Linked DNA regions of Homo sapiens: region 1 is linked to region 2. The links are contacts of gene promoters, found by promoter capture Hi-C in human tissues and cell types (Jung and others, 2019). All regions are on one chromosome and are shown on one strand. Each heading gives the region's core, a stretch centred on a gene start or on the middle of the fragment in contact. The rest is flanking DNA. Distances are from core to core; before and after follow the strand shown.

Region 1 (4,724 bases), core at 488-2,987, 190 kb after region 2:
CTGTAGTTCCAGCTACTCAGGAGGCTGAGGGAAGAGAATTACTTGAACCTGGGAGGCAGAGGTTCCAGTGAGTTGAGATCTCACCACTGCATCACAGCCTGGGCAAGAGAGCCAGACTCTGTCTCGAAGAAAAAAAAAAAGAGGACCTCTCTGTCTAGTGCCATTCCAGACCTGAGTAAACAATCTCAGAAAACCCCGTGTACTCCCCTGTGGCGCACACTGCAATCTGTGGCAAAAGCAGAACAGAAGAAATGACTGAGGCTGAAAGACTTTGACAGACAGACAGGGCTGGAGACAGCACCATGAGGTTTCCGGAGCCCCAGATGCAAAGGAGGAGCTGCCAATGTTTTCCCGTCACCTGATTAGGTCTCCCAAGTACAGGAAATGGGGCAAAACCTGAATAGGTCAAGGGGGCAGGTCCATGGAGGCCTCAGCTCTGATCTGTATAGACAGAGAACTGAGCATCAGACGCAGTCAGGTACAGGAGAGATCACAGGAGACCTCTTGGACACAACCCTCCCTGTGCCCCTCAGAGTGAAGAAACCAAAGAGGTCACAGAAGCCACATGACAGGGTGTTGTCCATCATGATAAAGACTTTGCCTTTGTCACTGTTGGAGCTGTAGCGCCATGGGAGTGTGAAAGGATAAACTACTACACGTCAGAAGAGCAGAGGGATAAATGAGGGCAAAGAAAGGTTTCCATTGAGAGCTCACAGGATTTAAACCCTTTTTGTTCCACAGAACTCTTCAACTCGGAAGGAGTTACCTGAATACTAATGGTGCAGCTTCCTCTCTGTCCATTTGAGCTCTTACCTGTGTTCACACCTTTGATGCATTCCCAACCACTTGATGTTTTTGTTATTTTCACTTCACTCTCCACAGTCCAGGGCTCTTTCCCTTGCCCCAACATGGAGGTAATACTCATTTCAGAAAGAGAGATTCCTGCTTAGAAAAAGAAAGGCATGTAATGTGCTGTGGCTTTTACAGAATCCCAGCCCTTTGTTTAGAGGAGGAAAGAGGACATTACAAATGGATCTAGAAAAATATTTCACAAATTCACCCACTGAATGCCTCCTTCTGAATGTTTAGGGAACATGGTAAAATACGAACATCGAACTGTCCTCTAGGAAGTACTGAATCACAAGCAAAGGGGCAGAAAAGAGCAAAGTGGATTTTTTTACTTTTTCTTTTTCTTTTTTTTTTTTTTTTGAGATGGAGTTTCGCTCTTGCTGCCCAGGCTGGAGTGCAGTGGCGCGATCTCGGTTTACTGCAACCTCCGCCTCCCGGGTTCAAGTGATTCTCCTGCCTTGGCCTCCCAAGTAGCTGGGATTACAAGCGCTCGGCACCACGCCTGGCTAATTTTTTGTATTTTTAGTAGAGATGGGGTTTCACCATGTTGGCCAGGCTAGTCTCAAACTCCTGACCTCAGGTGACCCACCCGCCTTGGCCTCCCAAAGTGCTGGGATTACAGGCGTGAGCCACCACGCTGGCCCAAAGTAGATATTTTTAAAGTCTACCATAGGGTTTATTTCTACTTAAGCTCTGGAACCACCAATGATATATCTTGAAGGAGGTAGATCATTTGAAAATGGGATAATTAAGTCCAGATGCTGCACTATTAAGCTTTTCATCTGAGAATTAACATAGCTTCAGTCTTAATTGAGCAATGCAGGGGCTCCCAAGAGGCACACAGGGAACATGCAGAGATACAGCAGAGCAGATCCCAGCTTCTGGAGGGGCATTATCCTCACCCAGGGAGACCAGGTTCCTGTAGTTCTCCAACATCACGTCCCTGTACAAAGCCCTCTGAGCAGGGTCCAGGCATTTCCACTCCTCCTGAGAGAATTCGATGGCCACGTCCCTGAATGTCAACCTTCCCTGATATGAAAAAACACATTTCACCAAGAAGTCATGGGGAGAGCTATTATCTTCACACAAAATGACAAAAAGAGAGGTATAAGTCAATTTAGTTTAAATGAACGTTCTGGGAAATCCATGGAAAGGTATTTTCAGGCAAACCGTGTCTGAAAAACACATTTTACCAAGCACATGGGGGAGAGTTATCATCTTTACATAAAATGAGAAAAAGAGAGAATTGTATTGATTTACTGAAGGGAGAGTTCTGGCAGATCCATGCTAAGGTATTTTGGGGCATTTAGGGACGTTAGGAAGAACATTAGGTATGTCTCCCTAATTGCATTTTATTATACTCTTCTGTAAGAGCTTATGATATCTTCTAAATAAGTGTGGATTTCTCTTTCTGTAGACAATGGAAGAAACGTAGAAATAAATAGTCAACACACAGCTATCTCTATAGAAGTGCTAGATATTATGTTTGACACACAAAGTGATATTCAGTATCTGGAGGAGCTGGAAGAAGTGTGTTGTCTTCAGAGATGACAATGTCCATGGTGTCTTTAAAGAAAGAAAGGTCAGAATCTAAAAAGTGTGGCCGGGCGTGGTGGCTCACGTCTGTAATCCCAGCACGTTGGGAGGCCAAGGCTGGTGATCATGAGGTCAAGAGATTGATATCATACTGGCCAACATGGTGAAACCCCGTCTCTACTAAAAATACGAAAATTAGCTGGGCGTGGTGGTGCACACCTGTAATCTCAGGTACTCGGGAGGCTGAGGCAGGAGAATCACTTGAACCAGGAGGTAGAGGTTGCAGTGAGCCGAGATCGCACCACTGCACTCCAGCCTGGGAAACAAAGTAAGACTCCGTCTCAAAAAAATAAATAAATAAAATAAAATAAAAAAATAAAAATACGGAACTGATTTATGAAATGGTGATGTGTCGTCTATAAACGCCATAGGATAGTTCATCCATACATTCATGCACACATATATACACGAATGTAAATTAACAAAGAGAAAACATGCCTCTCAATGACATACTTTTTATGACTTTTTCATTATCATTTTTCCTCATGTGCATTTCAGCATCTTGGGGACAGTAAAGTGTATAAGTTGTATTTAACTTAGTTTGTCAACATTATGTTATATAATGCCAATAAAAGAATGGTAAAAACATGAAAAAAATATTTAAAACTTTAACTCCAATCCCTATGAAATAGTTATAGTCAAACTACAAATAAAATTCTATCCATTTAAATTTAAATATTTAGGCTGGGCGCAGTGGCTCACGCCTGTAATCCCAGCACTTTGGGAGGCTGAGGCGGGAGGATCACCTGAGGTCAAGAGTTCGAGACCAGCCTGGGCAACGTGGTGAAATGGCGGGCACCTGTAGTCCCAGCTACTCGGGAGGCTGAGGCAGGAAAATCACTTGAACCCGGGAGGCAGAGGCTGCAGTGAGCCAAGATCGCACCACTGTACTCCAGCCTGGGTAACAAAAAAAACAAAAAACAAAAACAAACAACAAAAAAAAAGAAAAATGAATTAAAAGCCTCAACATATGACCTAACATGATAAAACTCCTAGAAGAAAGTGTAGGAGAAAAGGTTTGCGAAACTGAATTTTGCAGTCATTTCTAAGATATGACACCAAAGACACAGGCAAGAAAAGCAAAAATATACAAATGGGACTACATCAAACTTACAAACATCTCTGCATCAAAAGAAAGAATCAAGAGGCTGAAAAGCAACCTCCAAGAGAAGGATGTGCTGAAAATGACGTAAAGAATCTCCTTCTGTTAGAGATTTAGATTGTTTTCTGGCCGGGTGCGGTGGCTCACACCTGTAATCCCAGCACTTTGGGAGGCCAAGGCAGGTGGATCACCTCAGGTCAGGAGTTCAAGACCAGCCTGGCCAACATGGTAAAACCCCATCTCTACTAAAAATACAAAAATTAGCCCGGTGTGGTGGCAAGCACCTGTAATCCCAGCTACTCAGGGGGCCCAGGCAGGAGAATCACTTGAACCCAGGAGACGGAAGTTGCAGTGAGCCAACATCGCACCATCGCACTCCAGCCTAGGGGACAAGAGTGAGACTTTGTCTCAAAAAAAAAAAAAGAGATTTAGATTGATTTCATATTTTAAAATTGGTGGAGCCAGGCGTGGTGGCTCACGCCGGTAATCCCAGCACTTTGGAAGGACGAGGCGGATGGATCACCTGAGTTTGGGAGTTTGAGACCAGCCTGACCAACATGGAGAAACCCCGTCTCTCCTAAAAATACAAAATTAGCCGGGCATGGTGACACATGCCTGTAATCCCAGCTACTCGGGAGGCTGAGGCAGGATAATCGCTTGAACCTGGGAGGCGGAGGTTACAGTGAGCAAAGATCACACCATCGCACTCTAACCCAGGCAACAAGAGCGAAACTCCATCTCAAAAAAGAGAACAAATCAGTGCTAGAATAAAACACCCTCCCCTCACTAAGGTGTTTCTGAACTTTCCATTCCATTCCAAATCATAACAATTCTGGAGCCAAAAACATACAGATTCATGTATTTATCTTCGAATGTATTCTTAAATCAGACAAACAATGTGCCAGAATTCCCCTCATCAGCCTCCTTTTCTGGAATTACCAGGTACTTGTGCGCATTAGTACATGACTTCCATGTGCAGCTTCTCTACTCCTGGTCCACAGAGACCTCACAGTGCATCCAGATGTGGCCGCTAAACAATCCCTCTTGCCTAACAGTCCTAACACTACGGGGCTCACATGCCGTGTCCATCCATGTATGGGTGTGAGCCCTTCCCAGGACCATGCCCAGTGGGGCCTCGTCCCAAGTTCACATCAGTGGGTCACAGGCAATGGAATCT
Region 2 (4,734 bases), core at 417-2,916:
AGCAGCAAAGGGAGAAAACTGAGGCAGAAATTTAAAAAATCAATATGCATTCATTCACTCCAAAAAACTAACAGGCAAGGCAAGGGTTAAAAAGAAAAGAAGAACAAGTTTTCCTCTGCCTAGCAAGCTCACTTCAAGGACAGTTATAAGATAACGCTTTTTGTGCAGCTGAAGCCAAAGGAATGAGCTCCAGAAAACCCCACTTTAGAACAAGAGTGAAGAAAAAAAAAGTCTGTATTTAGCTGTTCTTGTTTTTCTTTCAATGCAGCTACAAGACCACCAGCTATGCAAGGCCACAAGTTATGCTATGCTATAGATTATGTGACCAATCATTACATGATTAACTGCTTTTATTTTGCTTCTGTAAGCCTGCTTATAAAAACCCCACTCTGTCTTTGTTGAAATGCTCAGCTTTTTAGATGTAAATCCACTGAGCCGGTGCGTACCTTAAATAAACATCGTTCTGTCTCCCGCATACCGGTCTCTCTAGTACTTAGTTTCCCGCAACACCATCTCTGCGCCTCCTCTGCTCTCCCTGTTACATTCTCTCTTCCCTGTTATACCCTCATCCCCACTCTCTAGCACCCCAGATCCCCAGGTGTCCTCCCTGCTGTGCTTCTCCCTCTGTTCTCCTTGCCACCAGCACCACTCTGCTCTGTCTGCCCTGGCTCCAAATCCCTCCTCCTCTCCCTCACTCTGATGAGCCTCCCTCTTTGCTGTCCCTCTCCCTACCTTGCTCTCTGTCCTTCATCTCTCTGTACATCTACCTTTTCTCTACATTTCTCCAGTTGCTTTTCTCCTCCTTTTTTTTTTTTTCCCCCACATTTGCTGTGTCTGGCAAATCCCTCACCCATCCTCTACTTTGCCATCTGTTATGAGTCTTTTTTATTCTTCTTTTCTGTCTCAGGTTTTCTACTGCTCTACGTCTGTCTCCTGATCCCTTTAGCCTACACAAGCACCGGAGGCTTTGGATAAGACACAGGAGGGTTTGGAGCAAAACGCCTGCATCCCGGGGGAGCGCATTTTCCAGGGGCTGGAGCTGGGCAGGCAAGAACACCCCGTGTCACAGGACAGGCCCCGGGCACCTCCCTAACTCGGGCTCAGGGAAAGCAGTGACTGTGGAGGCGAACCTGGGGAGCAGTAGGGCCCGCAAAAGGAGGGAGGCGGCGGCGCCACGGCGCCTTAAGACAAGGGTGGGGTCTGCAGGATCCCAGGACCAGACAGAGGACGCGGCCTCCTTGGGGCTGGGGCCGCCGCGCTGCGTCCAGCTGCCAACGAGGGCGAGACTGGGAGGCGCTCAGGGAGGGAATTCACCTCTCGGGTGAGGACTTTAAAAAGCGCGGGACGGGAGGAGTCAGAAAAAGTTTCAGAGCAGGAAAACTACGTGATAGAAAGTGTATACATTGCCCTATAGCAGAAACACCCGGGACGGGACCAGCCTCAGGGGGACCTTAAACCCAAAAGGAAGCGACCCCCGGACTCTCACGGGGTCGTCTCAACTTGCTCTGGGTGAAGGAAGACGGCTGAGAATTTCCAGGTTAGTGGAGACCCCACGCCCCAGGTACAGAAGCGCCAGGGACCTGGGAAGCACAGACTTAATACAAAACAGAGCGAAACTCACCCGCGGCGGTGGGATAGTCACTCCACGCCGTCCGCTTCCGGGTCTGCGCGAAGCTGCGCGCGCAGGAAAGAAGCCAGGCCTGGGCGGGACCCGCGAGGAGGTGGGCGGGCTTGGGCGAGGTAGGGGCGGGGCAGAGAGACTTTACCCTTTAGAACCGACAGAGGGCGGGGCTGTGGCGGGACCTGTGAGTCTCTCAGCCTGGCTCCCAGGGCCTCAGTTTTCGGGTTTTGGAGGCGAGACCGGCCAGGAAGGCTGAGGCATGATTCAAAAGCCCTGGAATTGTCTGGAACGGGGATGCAAACTGGAATGTAAAATGCAAAGCCCTGCCTGGATGGAACGTACGATTTCATGCTGACAGCCCACAAAACAGAATAGAAATCCTCTCCCTTTCCAGTCTCCATTCACTTGGGAGGGAGAGTCCACCCTGTGCTCAGCTGCAGAGACTTCCCTAGGGCCACCGCCTGGGATGTGGGACGGAATGCTCAGGCCAGCGAGGAGTGAGGTCACCACCTTCTGGATAAACACAGCAGGGATGTGGGCGCGGGCGCGGGAGACTGAGGTCCCAGCTACTCAGGAAGCAGCGGCGGGAGGATTGCTGAGCCTGGGGGTCCAGGCCAGCCTGGGCGACAATGTAACACCCCCTCCCGCAGGGCTCCCTTCCTCGTCACTCTCTCTTTTTTTTCCTTTTTTTTTAAACGTTTTAAAATAAGAGTTTGATTGTGTGAGATAGGGATCTAACAGTATTCTTTTCCATGTGGATATCCAGTTAGTTGCCTCAGCACATTTTTGGAAGAGATTTATTCCTTTATTTATTTACTTATTTCTTTTGTTTTGAGACAGAGTATTTCTCTGTCGCCCAGGCTAGAGTGCCGTGATGGGATCTCGGCTCACTGCAGCCTCTGCCTCCTGGGTTTCAGCGATTCCCCTGCCTCAGCCTCCAGAGTATCTGCAATTACAGGCGCGTGCCACCATGCCCGGCTAATTTTTGTATTTTTGTAGACGAGTTTCACCATGTTGGCCAGTGTGGTCTCAAACTCTTGACTTTAAGGGATCCACCTGCCTGGGCCTCCTCAAAGTGCTGGGATCACAGGCGGGAGCCACCGCGCCTGGCCAAATACTTTTTACTTCACTTTCTAATTGTTAAGAAAATACAATTGAAAACGAAACAAAAAAATCTTCCCCCAAATGACAAAACATCTCCATGACGATAATAGAGAAAGAAATAAACACCATTTTATTAATAAGTAAGCCTTAGACCAGAATGTGATGGGAAATAGAGGCAAAGAGCTAAGAGGTTGAAAAAAGAGAAAGACACTTCACAGTTCTATACAACCCATTAAGTACATGTTTTCAAGATAAACACTAATCAGTCCTCAGGGAAAAGGACTTGACAACACCCTTGGTCACACATAGTTCATCCTGGCTCTAGTTGGTAATGGAGGTGACCATCTGTGTCAGCTAATTAGCTTCATGCAGAGGGAGGGGGAGAAACACTAACCCATGTCTTTTTGACAAGTGTGAGTTTTACAACATGGCTACAGGTGCCCTCTCTGGTGAGGCTCCTACAATGTGACAGAAACTGATGTCAGCAGTAAATAATAACATTTAGAATTTATGATTAAGTATAGAGTTTATCTGAACACAAAGCATGAGGATAGCCACCGGCAAACATCAACTCCTAATGAATGGGATCAACGTTCCCAAGTAGAGACGTTAAGGTTTCACACACAGGGAAAGACAGAGAAGTTTTAGGAGAATCAACACATTTTCCATTCAAGACCAGTGCATAGGTTGCAGCAAGTTGATTGGTGACGGAGTCATACACTTCAAGGAAGGTTATGTTATCACTCCATAAAAAGGGACAATGATCCCAGGAGGCCTTATCTCTGGGGCTGCTTAGTCTTCCTAGTTATTTACAGGAGAACTCTTTTCCTGTAAATAAGGGCAAGACTCGCCCAGGCTGGAGTGCAGTGGGGCGATCTCGGCTCACTGCAACCTCCACCTCTTGGATTCAAGCAGTTCTCCTGCCTCAGCCTCCCAAGTAGCTGGGATTACAGGCACACGCCACCATGCCTGTCTAATTTTTTGTTTGTTTGTTTGAGACAGAGTCTCGCTCTGTTGCCTAGGCTGGAGTGCAGTGACACGATCTCACCTGCTCACTGCAACCTCCACCTCCCGGGTTCAAGCGATTCTCCTGGCCCAGCCGCTAAATTTTGTATTTTTAGTAGTGACAGGGTTTCGCCATGTTGGGCAGGCTGGTCTCAAACTCCTGACCTTGTGATCCGCCCGCCTCAGCCTTCCAAAATGCTGGGATTACAGGCGTGAGCCACCGCGCCTCGCCTTTTGTTTTGCATTTTTAGTAGAGAGTGGGTTTTACCATGTTGGCCAGGCTGGTTCCGAACTTCTGACCTCAAGTGATCTGCCCGCCTTGACCTCCCAATGTGCTGGGATTACAGGCATAAGCCACCGCAGCCAGCCAGGAAAACTCGTAGAAGTTACGCCTGCGTTCCGCTGGACTCAGGTTGCATGAGCACATTCCTCTCAAGGTGTAGCAGGAGCAGCCGCGGATAAAAGCCCTCAGACACCCGGTTAAAGAAAGAAGTGGCTTTATTCAGCCGGGAGCATCGGCCAACTCACGTCTCAAGAACCGAGCTCTTTGAAGACTTTGTTTGGCCGGGAGTGTCGGCAGACCTGCCTCTCAAGAATTGAACCCCCCGAAGAAAGAGTTCCTGGCCCTTTTAAGGGCTTACAGCTCTAAGGGGTTCCACGGGAAAAGGTCATGACAGATTAAGAGCACATGTGGTTAGAGTTGGGGGGCAGTTAATCTTTTAACCTCAGGCCTGGTCATCAGTGGCGCTGGCTGGTCTTGTCACTGAATTCATTCCTGTTGTTTTTCAGCTTTTACTTCCTCCTCTTCAGAGACAGGAGACAGTAAGAGAAATGGCCTCTCTCCTCAAAGGCTCAGAATTATTTAAAGGCCATAGCTTTAAATTGGAATTATTTGATGTTTGAATTACTTAATTTCCTACTGAGATACAGGTACTGTCTCCCTTGTATTTTGCCTTTCAAAGAGAGCTCCCAAGTCCTTCAGAAATACATCCCTGGGTCATTAA

Evidence for each region. The method cuts DNA at HindIII sites, captures the fragments that hold promoters and counts their contacts. A contact is called where the count stands out against the background at its distance.
Region 1: a fragment that was not itself captured here is called in contact with the fragment with the promoter of ZNF765 in region 2 in 1 of the 25 tissues and cell types used here (bladder).

What each region holds. Positions count from the first base shown.
Region 1 is chr19:53,201,170-53,205,893 of GRCh38, reverse strand. LOC124904792 (zinc finger protein 480-like) reads right to left here. Exons shown (of 5, transcript XM_047439805.1): 2 at 1,752-1,878; 3 at 814-945. Among named protein-coding and RNA genes, the nearest start is that of ZNF665, 10 kb to the right of the region's middle. The HindIII fragment of the contact is 4,533 bases long and covers 1-4,003 here.
Region 2 is chr19:53,392,081-53,396,814 of GRCh38, reverse strand. It overlaps ZNF765 (zinc finger protein 765), which reads right to left and starts at 1,666. Exons shown (of 4, transcript NM_001040185.3): 1 at 1,622-1,666. ZNF765-ZNF761 (ZNF765-ZNF761 readthrough) reads right to left here and starts at 1,666. Exons shown (of 13, transcript NM_001350496.2): 1 at 1,622-1,666. RefSeq lists a silencer at 1,597-1,796. The HindIII fragment of the contact is 15,738 bases long and covers 1-4,734 here.